Regions from separate parts of the Homo sapiens genome. Here region 1 is linked to region 2. The links are contacts of gene promoters, found by promoter capture Hi-C in blood cells and fetal thymus (Javierre and others, 2016). All regions are on one chromosome and are shown on one strand. The core of a region is centred on a gene start or on the middle of the fragment in contact, and the rest is flanking DNA. Distances in the headings are between cores, read along the strand shown.

Region 1 (7,504 bases), core at 161-2,660, 500 kb after region 2:
GGTCTTGAACTCCCGACCTCAGGTGACCAGCCCTCCTTGGCCTCCCAAAGTGCTGGGATTACAGGCGTGAGCCACCACACCCGGCCCTCTTTAAAGTTCTAAAATGCTTCTAACCTTTAAGCTGTCCTTGTTCATTCCTGGGCTTAGGCCAAACTAACTTTGGGAAGGAATTCAGCTGATGGTTTGACTCTGAAACAAAACTGATAACAGCCCTTTCCCTAAAAGACCCACTTCTTGCCTGGGAACCAGTCTGCCTTTGCAGGACTAACAAATTAGCTACAAGATTAGAAATTACAGTTTAGGAGTCATGCAGCCTCTGGGTCCAAGAGTCTGAACGTCCCCAGATTGCTCCCAGAGGTAGCATCACTATTGTAAAACCTAAAATCAGTGCTTGAGATAGTTTGCAGACCCTGCACTCGATGGATCAGCTGACACCACCCAGACCATCAGACCAGACCAGTCAAGATCGCACCATTGCACTCCAGCCTGGGCAACAAGAGTGAAACCCCATCTCAGAAAAAAAAAAAAAAAAAAAAAAAAAAAAAAAGAAGGAAAAGAAAGAAACTCTACACTTCCTGTCCTTATTCCTGGGAATTTATTTAACAATTTAATTTCTCACCATACCCGAGGGAAGGCACAGCCTATTGCAAAGTCATTTTGCACGAAAGCAAACTGGGGCTCAGAGAACCAGGCCTCCAGTCAGTGCTGGTGTCATGGACAACCAGGCTGAGGGCCCATGGCAGAACCTGTTTTATGACATGGCTGCTCTCCCTGAAGCCAGTGAGGCACAAAGCCTAGGGGAGTGGACAAGGGACAGGAAGGTGTGGGTTTCCATCCTGCTGTGTGACCTTGGGGAAGTCACCTAACCTCTCTGAGCCTCATTTTTCTTTCTTTTTTCTTATTTATTTATTTTGAGACAGAGTCTCGCTCTGTCGCCCAGGCCAGAGTGCAGTGGCGCAATCTCAGCTCACTGCAAGCTCCGTCTCCCAGGTTCAAGTGATTCTCCTGCCTCAGCCTCCCGAGTAGCTGGGATTACAAGCGCGTGCCACCACGCCTGGCTAATTTTTGTATTTTTAATACAGATGGGGTTTCTCCATATTGGTCAGGATGGTCTCGAACTCCTGACCTCGTGATTTGCCCACCTCAGCTTCCCAAAGTGCTGGGATTACAGGCATGAGCCACCGTGCCCAGCCTTCTTGTTTTTAGTTTTTTTTTTTTTAATGAAAAAAAAAGTATTATTATGGCCGGGCACGGTGGCTCACGCCCGTAATCCCAGCACTTTGGGAGGCCAAGGTGGGTGGATCACCTGAGGTTAGGAGTTGGAGACCAGCCTGACCAACATGGCAAAACCTCATCTCTACTATAAATACAAAAATTAGCTGGGCATGGTGTCGCATGTGTGTAATCCCACCTACTTGGGAGGCTGAGGCAGGAGAATCGCTTGAACCCGGGAGGCAGAGGTTGCAGTGAGCTGAGATTGTGCCACTGCACCCCAGCCTGGGCAACAGAGAGAGACTCTGTCTCAAAAACAAAACAAAACAAAACAAAAACCAGAAGAGATGTGTGGTGCATGTAAAATACACATGAGATGAGATTTTGAAGACTGATTTTGAAAAAAAGAATGTAAAATGTCTTGGCCATAACTTTCATCAGAATTACTTGATTTGTATTTAAATATCATGGCATTTAGTTTATGGGGGATTTTTTTGTTTTAATTTATCTTTTTTCTTTTTTTCCAGCAAATGCTTAACATCCAAAGTTTATGGTTATATGTTTGAGATGGGATCTCATTCTGTCGCCCAGGCTGGGGTGCAGTGGCTCACTGCAGCCTCTACCTCCTGGGTTCAAGCCATCCTCCCACCTCAGCCTCCCAAGTAGCTGGGACTATATAGGTATGTGCCATCACGTTTGACTAATTTTTAAATTTTTTTGTAGAAGCCGGGTGCAGTGGCAAATGCCTGTAATCCCAGCACTTTGGGAGGCCGAGGCGGGCGGATCACCTGAGGTCAGGAGTTTGAGACCAGCCTGGCCGACATGGTGAAACTCCGTCTCTACCAAAAATACAAAATTAGCTGGGGGTGGTGGCGCGCGCCTGTAATCCCAGCTACTTGGGAGGCTGAGACAGGAAAATCTCTTGAACCTGGGAGACAGAGATTGCAATGAGCCAAGATTGTGCCACTGCACTCCAGCCTGGACGACAAAGTGAGACTCTGTCTAAAAAAAAAAAAAAAAAAAAGTTTTCTGTAGACACCGAATCTCACTATATATGTTCCCCAGGATGAACTTGAAGTCCTGGGCTCAAGTGATCCTCCCATCTCAGCCTCCCAAAGTGCTGGGATTACAGGTGTGAGCCACCGCGCCCGACCCATAGATGCTTGTTAAGGGAAAATCCCAGCACTTTAGGAGGCCAAGGAGGGTGGATCACCTGAAGTCAGGAGTTCGAGACCAGCCTGGCCAATATGGTGAAACCCCATCTCTACAAAAAATACAAAAATTAGCTGGGCTTTTTGGCTGGTGCTTGCAATCCTTGAGAGGCTGAGGCAGGAGAATCACTTGCCTGTAGTCTTAGCTACTTGGGAGGCTGAGGTGGGAGGATTTGCTTGAACCCAGGAGTTCAAGGCTGCAGTCAGCTATGATAGCGCCACTGTACTTCAACCTGGGCAACAGAGGGAGACCTGGTCCCTTAAAAAAAAAAAGACATTTCTCAAGAGGGCCTTCTACCTTCCTTCCTTCCCTTTGAAAAACCTAGGAGGGAGTTACAGATGTTATTGTTCACCAGCTGTATCCTAAGGAATTCAGGTTCGTCCTAAAGGAAAATGCCTTTTCCCCTTTCCTCACCTCGTTTTAGATACTCTCTGGAGGATTTTCCTCAGATTCTCGCTGAAACCTGACTCTCTCCTGGTAATGCAAATATTCCTGGGCTCTCTATGGGAAAGCTGCGGCCCTGTGCCTGACCCCAGGGCACTGGGAGAGAAAGTCTTTCCGGGCCGCAAGGTGTCATAGGAAAGGGGTCCCAATCCAAACCCCAAGAGAGGGCTCTTGGATCTCAGGCAAGTCTGTAAAGTGAAAGCAAGTTTTTAGGAAAGTAAAGGAATAAAAGAATGGCTACTCCATAGACAGAGCAGCCCCAAGGGCTGCTGGTTGCCCATTTTTATGGTTATTTCTTGATAATATGCTAAAGAAGGGGAGGATTATTCATGCCTCACCTTTTTAGAGCATCTGGGGTAACTTCCTGGTGTCGCCATGGCATCTGTAAACTGTCATGGTGTTACTGGTAGAAGGTGTCCAGGTTCTTGGCATCCCAAACAAAGAATTGGACAAAACACACCAACAAAGCAAAAGCAAGGAAGGCAGAAGCAGGGATTTTTTTTTTTTTTTTTTTTTTTTGAGACGGAGTCTTCCTCTGTCATCCAGGCTGGAGTGCAATGGTGCAATCTTGGCTCACCGCAACCTCCGCCTCCCGGGTTCAAGTGATTCTCGTGCCTCAGCCTTCCGAGCAGCTGAGATTATAGGCATGCACCCCCATGCCCGGCTAATTTTGTATTTTTTTTTAGTAGAGTCGGGGTTTCTCCATGTTGGTTAGGCTGGTCTCGAACTCCCAACCTCAGGTGAACTCCCGACCTCAGGTGATCCGGCTGCCTCGGCCTCCCAAAGTGCTGGGATTACAGGTGTGAGCCACCGCGCCCCAGCCAGAGGCAGGGATTTATTGAGAATGAAAGCACACTCCACAGTGTGGGAGTGGGCTGGAGCATAGGGGCTCAAAGTCCCCATTACAGAATTTTTCGGAGTTTAAATACCCTTTACTTGGGGTACGCCCTATGTAAATGGAGAGGATGAAGTAAGGTTACAGTCATTGACTTGGCTTCCGCCCTTCCTGCCATAGGTGAAGTGTGAATCGACCTTATATTCTTGGCCTCCAGACCTTGTTTTCCTGACTCAGTGACACTGATGGGAGTGTAGCAGTGAGGACAACCAGAGGTCACTATTGGGGCCATCTTGGTTTTGGTGGGTTTTGACTGGCTTCTTTTTGCAACCTGTTTTATCAGCAAGGTCTTTATGACCTGCATCTTGTGCTGACCTCCTATCTCATCCTGTGACTTAGAATGCCTTAATTGTCTGGGAACACAGCCCAGCAGGTCTTGGCCTTATTTTACCCAGCCCCTACACAAGATGGAGTCACTCTGGTTTAAACATCTCTGACAAAGGCATTCAGAGAGAAAGTCTGTCCATGTGAACATTGTCTCCTAAGCTTGCCGGGTGCTCCAATCACGGCCATGGGCAGGACGTGTGACAGCTGGTCTCCCCCTCCAAGACTCCCAGACTAGCAGGCAAATCTAACATTCCAGAAACCCTTAAATAGTTCATGAATGACACCTGAAATCTGCATTCTGCTGGGGGAGGCAGGGACGTGTCTTGGCCGTGGCTGGGAAGCAAGATTTTTAAAGCTCAGGCCTGAGCTGGAAGAAAAGACTGGAGGAAGAGGGGAGGGGATGGGCAGGATTCCAACTCTCCTGGGGGAGTTCCAGGCTGGGGCAACACCGGTTTTACTTTCTGAAGCGGAGGGAGGTCTCTGTCCATCTCCTGCTGACACCCACCCCACCTGGGCCTGGCTGCTACCCGAGGGTAATTATCTGCACCCAGCCATGCACCGCACCGCCGTTCCCACTGCCCATGACTCACTCGGCCCCCCTTGCGTTCTTTGTTCTTCGCCTCCTTCCCCCACCTCCCTGCAGGCTTCACACTTTGCAGGCCTAGGTCTTAGTCATCTCTGGGAACGGCTCCAATTTTCTTACAATGATAAGTAAATGGATCATTCTTTAGCTCGGCTAGAATGTCCCCATCTTTATTCTCAGAGCAATTCCTTGCACATAGCCGCATGCCCTCATCATAGGGATTTTGCCCTGGCTGCCACCTTGCCCTCCTTCTGGTTCCCTGTTTCATTTTCGAAGGTCTTTCTTCTTTGAGACAAGGTCTCACTCTGCCCCTAGGTGAAGGGCAGTGATGCGATCATAGTTTACTGTAGCCTCCAACTCCTGGGCCCAATCGATCCTCCAACCTTGGCCTCCTGAGTAGCTGGGACTGTAGGCACCCGGCTAATTTTTAAAAATTATTTTCAGAGACAGGGTCTTGGCCGGGTGCGGTGGCTCATGCCTGTAATCTCTGTACTTTAGGAGGCCGAGGTGGGTGGATCACCTGAGGTCCGGAGTTCCAGACCAGCCTGGCCAAAATGGTGAAACCCCGTCTATATTAAAAATACAAAAAAATTAGCCAGGCGTAGTGGTGCACGCTTGTAGTCTCAGCTACTCAGGAGACTGACGCAGGAGAATCACTTGAACCCAGGAGGTGGAGGTTGCAGTGAGCCGAAATTATGCCATTGCACTCCAGCCTGGGCGACAAGAACAAAACTCCATCTCAAAAACAAAACAAACAAACAAACAAAAAAACTCAAAAGAGACAGGTTCTTGCTGTGTTGCCCAGGCTGGTCTCGAACTCCTGACCTCAAGTGATCCTACTGCATTGGCCTCCCAAAATGCTGAGATGACAGTCGTGAGCCACCACACCTGGCCTCGTTTTGAAGGTCTTGAATCAAATAATTACCTTTTCCTTGAGGTATCTGGAATATATAGATAACATAACCGGTTAGGTCAGGGGTCGATCTTTAACCAGGCCCAGGGTGCGGTGCCGGGCTGTCTGCCTATGGATTTGATTTCTGCCATTTAGTTTTTACTTCTTCTTTCTTTGGAGGCAGAAATTGGGCATAATATGAGGGGTGGTGTCCTCCCTTACTATGATTGTGCCCCTGCACTCCAGCCTGGTCAACACAGCAAGACCCTGTCTCAAAAAGAAAAGGGATCTAACATCTTTTTAAATTTACTTATTTATTCTACCTGTAGACTCTTAACACTAGAATGTCAGGGATTTTTGCATGTTGGTTCATTCACTGATCCGTTGTATTCTCAGACCTGGGGCTTGTCAAGCATGCAGGCACTGAATGAACATCTGTTAAGGAAATGCCGAGTGAGCCAAGCATGGAATTTGTAAGGCTCTTGTGTCGTTTCGAACCCCGAGAGCAAGCCAACAAACAACATGAGCTGGTGTGGAGCAACACGCTGTTTTAATGTGCACCTGGGTGCAGACGGCTGAGGCCTAAAATGGCGTCAGCCCCAAGTGAGGACGGGGCAGGGGTTTTATAGTCTCCCGTAAACAGCAAGTGTCCCAGTCTGACGTAACTGCTACATGGTACCCGGATGGCCCGTCTCTTGATCTTCAGGGGCATGTGTCTTCCGGCCAGGGTAGATGTCTTCCAGCCAGGGTACGTGTCTTCCGGCCAGGGCAGGTGTCTTCCGGCCAAGGTAGCTGTCTTCCGGCCAGGGTAGATGTCTTCCGGCCAGGGTAGATGTCTTCCGGCCAGGGTAGGTGTCTTCCGGCCAGGGTAGATGTCTTCCGGCCAGGGTAGATGTCTTCCGGCCAGGGTACGTGTCTTCCGGCCAGGGTACATGTCTTCCGGCCATCTCTCTTCCTGCTTCTGCTATCTTGCTGGCGCATGCTGCTGGGGCAAGTAGCCTTGCACCTTGGGACTGGGCCTGAGAAGGGAGGAGTTATTCATCCCCCCAAGTTTATCCTCCCAAGTTTTCAGGCCGCGGGGAGAATCTTTCAGAATTATTCTGTCAATATTGTTTCTTCCCCCTTACCCTGGCTCTCTTCTCCCAATCCTGCCCTGGTCCCCACTCTGCAGATGAGTAGACACTGTGTCCCACCTTGTCCTGTGGGTGCCTGATACTTGACTCTGTCAGTGCTTGTGGCTGCTGTAGTTTTATTTATTTTCGAGACAGAGTCTCACTCTGTCACCCAGGTTGGAGTGCAGTGGCGCTATCTCGGCTCACCGCAACCTCTGCCTCCCAGGTTCAAGCGATTCTTCTGCCTCAACCTCCCGAGTAGCTGGGATTATCTAGGCGTGCACCACCATGCCCAGCTATTGTATTTTTAGTAGAGACAGGGTTTCACCATGTTGGCCAGGCTGGTATCAAACTCCTGACCTCAGGTGATCCCCCCACCTCGGCCTACCAAAGTGCTGGGATTACAGGTGCGAGCCACTGTGCCTGGCTTGTAGTTTAATTTTTATTTATTTATTTATTTATTTATTTATTTATTTTTGGAGATGAAGTCTTGCTCTGTCACCCAGTCTGGAGTGCAGTGGCACAATCTCGGCTCACTGCAACCCCCACCTCTCAGGTTCAAGCGATTCCCCTGCCTCAGCCTCCCAAGTAGCTGGGATTACAGGCGTGCACCATCATGCCTGGTTAATTTTTGTATTTTTAGTAGAGATGGGGTTTCGCCATGTTGGCCAAGCTGGTCTTGAACTCCTGGCCTTAAGTGATCTGCCTGCCTTGGCCTCCCAAACTGCTGGGATTACAGGCGTGAGCCACTGCACCAGGCCAATTAACTTCTCCTAATCTGTAACTAAGGTCTGAGTCCTGAAGACCTTCCTCTGAGCCTCAGTAAA
Region 2 (7,301 bases), core at 2,604-5,103:
ACCTGTAATCTCACACTTTGGGAGGCCAAAGCGGGTGGATCACTTGAGGTTAGGAGTTGGAGACCAGCCTGGCCAACATGGCGAAACCCCGTCTCCACTAAAAGCACAAAAATTAGCTGGGTGTGGTGGCAGGTGCTTGTAATCTCAGCTACTTGGGAGGCTGAGGCACGAGAATTGCTTGAAGCCAGGAGGTGGAGGTTGCAGTGAGCCGAGATTGCACCACTGCACTCCAGCCGGGGTGACAGAGCGAGACTCTGTCTCAGAAACAAAACAAAACAAAAAAACAATACTAGCCATCAACAACCACACATAACCAACTACCATTAGCAACCACAGAAAGCAGCAGTCACCAGTCCTATCCTGTTCAAAACCCAACATTGAACCAGCACCACCATTGCTGATCATCATCTTACCAGAAACCAACAATAAACTACCAGCAGCAAATGAACGCTACTACCAACACCTTTCCTCTCCAAATAACAGCAACCACCGATGGTCATCATTCCACTGGTCACCAAGCATCTCCAGAATTTCCAGCTGAAAACAATCCACCACCAACGAACAACATTAAACACCAACCGCCACCACCACCAGCCCACCTGCAAGAGCCATTATCACCACGAACCTGCAACAAGAAACAGCCACAACCACCACCACAACCAATGACACCAACAACCCAGCAATGACCACTCGCAGCAACTCCTCCCCAATTACCACAATCGTCACCTCCGTCCATCCTCATTGCTGAATCCAGAAATGAATGGACATCCCAGCTAATGGCAGCTACCATGGATCAAGTGCATGTTATGTGCTCTGTAAAGCAATGGTCCCCAACATTTTTGGCACCAGAGACCGGTTTAATGGAAGACAATTTTTCCATGGACCATGGAGCGGGGCATTAGATTTTCTTTTCTTTCTTTTCCTTTATTTCTTCTTTTTTCCCTTTCTTTCTTTCTTTCTTTCTTTCTTTCTTTCTTTCTTTCTTTCTTTCTCTCTCTCTCTCTCTCTCTTTCTTTCTTTCTTTCTTTCTTTCTTTCTTTCTTTCTTTCTTTCTTTCCTTTCTTTCTCTTTCTTCTTTCTCTCTTTCTTTCTTTCTTCCTTTCTCTTTCTCTCTTTCTTTCTTTTTCTTTCTCTTTCTTTCTTTCTTTTTCTTTCTTTCTTTCTCTCTCTCTTTCTTTTTTTTTTGAGATGGAGCCTCTCTCTGTGGCCCAGGCTGGAGTGCAGTGGCGTGATCTCGTCTCATTGCGACCTCTGCCTCCTGGGTTCAAGTGATTCTCCTATCTCAGGTTCCCGGGTAGCTGGGGTTACAGGCGCGCACCACCACGACTGGCTAATTTTTGTATTTTTAGTAGAGACAGGGTTTTGCCATGTTGGCCAGGCTGGTCTTGAACTCTTGACCTCAGGTGATCCGCCCACCTCGGCCTCCAAAAGTGTTGAGATTACAGGCATGAGCCACTGCACCCTGCCAACGGCATTAGATTTTCTTTTTCTTTTTTTTTTTTTTTTGAGACGGAGTCTGGCTCTGTCGCCGAGGCTGTAGTGCAATGGTGTGATCTTGGCTCACTGCAACCTCCGCCTCCCGGGTTCAAGCGATTCTCCTGCCTCAGCCTCCCGAGTAGCTAGGATGACAGGCATGTGCCACCACACCCAGCTCATTTTTGTATTTTTAGGAGAGACGGGGTCTCACCACGTTGGCCAGGATCGTTTCTATCTCTTGACTTCGTGATCTGCCCGCCTCGGCCTCCCAAAGTGCTAGGATTACAGGTGTGAGCCACCGCACCCGGCCGGGCATTAGATTGTCATAAGCAGCATGCAACCTGGATCCCTCGTGTGTGCAGTTCACAACAGGGTTTGCGATCCTGTGATAATCTAATGGCGCCCCCGAGAATCTGAGAGGAGGTGGAGCTCGGGCTTGCTTGCCTGCCACTCATCTCCTGCTCTGTGACCCGATAGGGCTCATGGTTTCTAACAGACAGACCATGGCCCGATAGCAGTCCATGACCCCGGGGGTTGGGGACCCTGTTGTAAAGGACTTCAGAAATACTGTTTCATTGAATCCTTCAGCGATCTTCCTGGCATTCACCACTCCTCCAGGAAGATTTCAGCATCCCCAGACAGAGGTGGGTGTCATTTTTTTCTCTTCTATCATCCTCTGCGATACGGGTGGCCCCTCCCAGACCTTGTCTGCCAAGCCGACTGTTGACTAAGCATTTTCAGAGGGCTTCCTTGGGGAGGGGTTGCCTTTCTTTCAAGTAGCAAATCACTTCCTGTGTTCTTTTGATCAAAGCCCTGCCCATCCCAGGACCTGAGCCTCCCTGGCTTGCTTCTCATCTTGGAAGAATTCCCACCCCAACAGTCTCAGAGCTCCAGCTGATGGTTTGGGTGTGAATTCCGGGATGCCCAATTTCTCATCAGCTTTCCTTTTTTGAGACGGAGTGTGCTCTGTCACCCAGGCTGGAGTGCAGCGGCAGGATCTCAGCTCACTGCACCCTCCGCCTCCTGGGTTCAAGTTATTCTCTTGCCTCAGCCTCATATGTAGCTGGGATTACAGGCGTGTGCCACCACGCCCAGTTAATTTTTTGTATTTTTTAGTAGAGACGAGGTTTCACCACGTTGGCCAGGCTGGTCTCGAACACCTGACCTCAAGTGATCTACCTGTCTCAGCCTCCTAAAATGCTGGGATTACAGGCATGAGCCACTGTCCCTGGCCCTCACTGGCTTCCTGAAAGAAGGTGTTGTCTCTCAGACTAACACCACCTCTGCCTCTTGCCCTATGTCCCTGACTCCACCCTAGTAAGCTGTACCTGCCAAGAATCCTGCAGTGGCCGCTGTCACAGCCACATGCTCTCATCCTCACTGACTGAATGACGAGAAATGAAAGCTGAAGTGGTCTACACAGCAGAGAGCTGTGGGGTGGGGTCAGCCCTGGCCACCTCTTACTTTGCGTCTTATGGTGGTACGATACTGCTAGGAATAGCGCCATGATCACGACAGTCTCCCCGTTGCTATCATCGACAGACCTCAGACTTGACAGGCAGCAACACCTCTGGCTGCCATCCTCCTCTTGGGATAAGGGATGCCCACCAAAGGGTGGCATGGACGTATTCAGCCTCTCCTGCCTCTGCTGCAGCCATACCGCCCGTCACCGGCACAGGGAGGGCGTCAATCCACCCCATCGCTTGTTAGACATAGCTTCCCATCTCAGCCGAGGACTCTGTGGCAGAACCCACAGACCTTGAGAATGTTGCAACTGAAAGACCCCTGAAGAGCAACTTCCGCATCTAGACGGATTTCCAAATATGACATCTGTGGGAACCGGGGCCAAGAGAGGGGAAGTGACTAGCCCAAGGCTACACAGGGAGACGAGAGACTGGGCTGGACTGGGAAAGGGCTCCCTTAATTTGCAAGCAAAGGAGGCTATGTCCTTGTCCCTGCAGACTCTGTGATTCTCCCTGGGCCACCTTCTGTCTTCCAGGTCCTGCCCTATCCTTGGATCCAGGGATACCACCCTGGCATCCCCACCACCTACAGATGGGAGCTTGCTCCCTGGTAAGGGATGCTGGAGGCACCTGAGCTGCACTGAGAGACACCCCACCCCCACAGAAGTCCACCATGCCCCTCCCCTCACCCCAATTTCTGATGGTCATTTTTAGGACACCTCCACCTGGCTGGTGTCCCTCCTCTTTCTTCTTCCAGATCCCACCCTTGAAGGACTTACCATGGTGGGGGGCTGGTGTCTGGGCTCCTGGAGGCTCCTGAATGGGTCGTGATGGAGGTGCAGGTTCAGGGGGATCTTGGGGGTGGCTTGGGCATGGCCCTGCTTCTGCCCGTTCACCGGACTCCCGGCTTTAGTTCCTCTTACAACAGCCCCTTCTCACTTCCTTTGGCGGGAGGGGCCGAGGCCATGGGGGAGGGAAGCTGGGTGTGGAGGGGGGCGGGGAGCTGGCTGTTTGGGGCTCTGAGCCTGAAGGGAGGGGTCAGAACTTGATGGCAGCCACTACTGGACCTCAGAGGCCTCTTCCCCAACTCCTTGGGGACAGGGCTGCTGCAGGAACATTTGGGTCAGCTGGCTGCAGGACGAACCACCTCTTTTCAGGGCGATTCAGGAAGCATTTGGGCTTCCCGGGTCTCTTTTTAAAACCAAGGAAGGGGCCCAGGGGAGGTGGCTCACGCCTGTAATCCCAATACTTTGGGGGGCCAAGGTTGGAGGATCGCTTGAGTCCAGGAGTTTGAGACCAGCCTGGGCTATATAGCATGACCCCATCTCTACAAAAAATGAAAAGAAAAAAAATTAGCTGGGCATGGTGGCATGAGCCTGCAGTCCCAGCTACTCAGAGGGCTGAGGTGGGAGGATTGCTTGAACCTGGGAGGTGGAGGCCTCAGTGAGCCCTGATTGCGCCACTGCACTCCAGCCTGGGCGAAAGAGTGAGACCCTGTCTCTAAAAACAAACCAGAAAAAACAAAAAAACCAAAAAAACAACAACAACAGGGAAGGGTGCCTTCTTCAGCTGTGTCTGCTCTGGGCATCCCTGGGCAACCTCCTTCATTATTATTATTGTTATTATTTTGAGACGGAGTCTAGCTCTGTCACCCAGGCTAGAATGCAGTGGTGCAATCTCAGCTTACTTTAATCTCCGCCTCCTGGGTTCAAGCGATTCTCCTGCCTCAGCCTCCTGAGTAGCTGGGATTACAGGTGCCCACCGCCACACCTGGCTAATATTTGTATTTTTAGTAGAGACGGAATTTCGCCATGTTGGCCAGGCCGGCCTTGAACTCCTGACCTCAGGTGATCCTCCCAACTCGGCCTCCCAAAGTGCTGGGATTACAGGCATAAGCCACCACGCCTGGCCCAACCTCCCTCTTTAGATGACCCTCAGAAGTCACACGTGTTTGTGTGCAGAAGTGGAGGGTACTGGGAAGCAGGTGCATCTGAAAGGTCCCTGACTTTGGATGTCACATCTAGATTTAACAGCCTCCAGTTTGGCTACTTCCTGGATGACTTAGTTACTCCCTTTTCTCATTGTAAAATGGGAACGTGGGTCCCCCCAGCAGAGCCTGGCCCAGGTACGTGTCAGCCTATGAGCTGGTCTTTGGGACACCAGCCAACCACCTGAGGCTCCTCTTGACATGTGAGGAAATGGCAGTTCTAATAGGTTGTTACTTCCCCACACCACCCAGCAAGGAGGTGGCCGAGGCAGGACCCGACCCTGGGAGACCCTGGGGGACCCATGTTCAGATCTATCTTTGGTCCAGGGCGATAAACCCGCATCCCCCTTGAAGATGTTAATATGCAGCGCCCCTAGTGGCCACAGCTGGGAAGGAGCCCGTCTCTGCTGGAATCTCCTGAGCGAGTTTGCAGAATTGACGGGCTTGGGGCATGCAATTCTCAGCAATGTCTCCAGGCACTCAAGAGTGAATATGAATGGGTAAGAGGACCCCACTTTGTTGGGGGCCATCAGGGGAGGCTTCTAGGAAGAGGCAACGTTTGTGCTGACACCGGCGAGTAAGCTGGAGTTAAAAAAGGTAAAGGGGCAGGAGCGTGCACCTGGCCATGCTAAGCGCTCAAGCAAAGGCCCAGATATGGGAAAACCATAGGGCAATTGAGGAAGTTCGGGGAGGCTGGTGTGGCTGGAGCATGCGGAGTGACGGAGAGTGTGATGGCCAGGGTGGCAGGTGCTAGACCGTGTGGCTTTAAGAGCCTCTGTGAGGGCCAGGCATGGTGGCTGATGCCTGTAATCCCAGAACTTTGGGAGGCTGAGGTGGGAGGATCGCTTGAGCCCAGGAGTTCCAGACCAGCTTGGGCAACATAGCAAGACCTCGTCTCTACAAAAAATTAAAAAATCAGCTAGGTGTGCTGTTGCACCTATAATCTCAGTTACTTGGCAGGGTAGGCAGGAGAATCGTTTAAGCCCAGGAGTTCAAGGCTGCAGTGAGCTGAGATCGTGCCACTGAACTCCAGCCTGGGCTACAGAGTGAGACCCTGTCTCAAAAAACAAAAACAAAAAAGCAAAACCCTTCCACGAGAAGCTGTTGTACTTTTCTCCTAAAATCCCTGGGTTCCTGTCTGCAATGTTAAAAGTCCCCTTCTGGCTGGGCACGGTGGCCCATGCCTGTAATCCCAGCACTCTGGGAGGCCGAGGCGGGCAGATCACGAGGTCAGGAGATCGAGACCATCCTGGCTAACACGGTGAAACCCCGTCTCTACTAAAAAAGTACAAAAAATTAGCTGGGCATGTTGGCGGGCGCCTGTAGTGCCAGCTACTCGGGAGGCTGAGGCGAGAATGGCATGAACCCAGGAGGCGGAGCTTGCAGTGAGCCGAGATCGTGCCACTGCACTCCAGCCTGGGCAACAGTGCAAGACTCCGTCTCAAAAAAAAAAAAAAATAAAAAAAAAAAATAAATAAATCAGCTGGGTGTGGTCGTGCACGCCTGTAGTCCCAGCTATTCAGAAGGTGGAAGTGGGAGGATCACTTGAGTCCAGGAGATCAAGGCTGCAGTGAGCTATGATAGGCATAGCTGGGCGACAGGGACCGTCTCAGGAAAAAAAAAAAAGAAGTCCCCTTTTGGCTGTTGGGTAGACCTGGGAGAATGGGTGGTCCTTTCCAGACCTGGGTGGGGGCTACTGGATGCACTGACACACACACACCGCAATTCGTAGAAATCTACACAAGACAGAACTTTATTGATGTAGGGCTTCCTGGCAGGAGTGTGTGGGCCCCAGGGCAGGGTCTGTAGCACCATGAGGGGGTGGCCTGGATGTCGGGGTGCCCCTGGGGCGGGCAGGGCAGAGGTTGGGGTGGATCCTCCCCCTAGTCAGGTCAGGGGAGGGTGTCAGGGAGGTGGTGCTACCCCCCCCCCTCCCATAGCAGACACAGATTCCCCCCCAGCTCGGAGTGGAGGGGTAGGGCAGTGCTGGGGGGCAGGGCACCGGCAGACCACCTCCCCACCCCTACTCTTCACAGTACATATTCCGATCAAAGGAGGGGGGGAGTGTTGGGGACTCCCTAAGGGTGGGTTCAAAGGGTGCTGGGGTGAACAGCTGTCCCCTCCCCAGACCCACCCTGGAGGGGGGGTCTCACTATGTGAACTGGAAGGGGCGGATGCTGAAGAGGGGCTCTGGGGGGATAGCCAGCCCCTCTCCATCCCCCCAGCCAGGGCCCTGCAGGGGTTCCCAATAAATAACTTCCGGCTCCGTCTCACCCTTCCCTCCCAGTTCCCGCCCCCCCGGGGCCCCCTCTGGCCGGCCCGCTGCAGGGCTGGCGGCGGAGACCCCGCCAGCTGTGGCTCCGGGTGCCGCGCGC

Evidence for each region. The method cuts DNA at HindIII sites, captures the fragments that hold promoters and counts their contacts. A CHiCAGO score of 5 or more calls a contact.
Region 1: a fragment that was not itself captured here is called in contact with the fragment with the promoter of MYO1F in region 2 in 1 of 17 cell types (M2 macrophages); the score reaches 5.0 in M2 macrophages.

The regions. Positions count from the first base shown.
Region 1 is chr19:9,071,089-9,078,592 of GRCh38, forward strand. No RefSeq gene overlaps it. Among named protein-coding and RNA genes, the nearest start is that of MUC16, 9.1 kb to the left of the region's middle. RefSeq lists enhancers at 1-154, 3,013-3,900. The HindIII fragment of the contact is 5,674 bases long and covers 1-4,247 here.
Region 2 is chr19:8,573,589-8,580,889 of GRCh38, forward strand. It overlaps MYO1F (myosin IF), which reads right to left and starts at 3,854. Exons shown (of 28, transcript NM_012335.4): 1 at 3,719-3,854. The coding sequence starts at 3,721. ADAMTS10 (ADAM metallopeptidase with thrombospondin type 1 motif 10) reads right to left here. Exons shown (of 26, transcript NM_030957.4): 26 at 6,652-7,301. RefSeq lists enhancers at 2,299-2,358, 2,699-2,758, 2,929-3,108 and silencers at 3,229-3,278, 3,816-3,965, 5,186-5,380, 7,192-7,241. The HindIII fragment of the contact is 24,150 bases long and covers 1-7,301 here.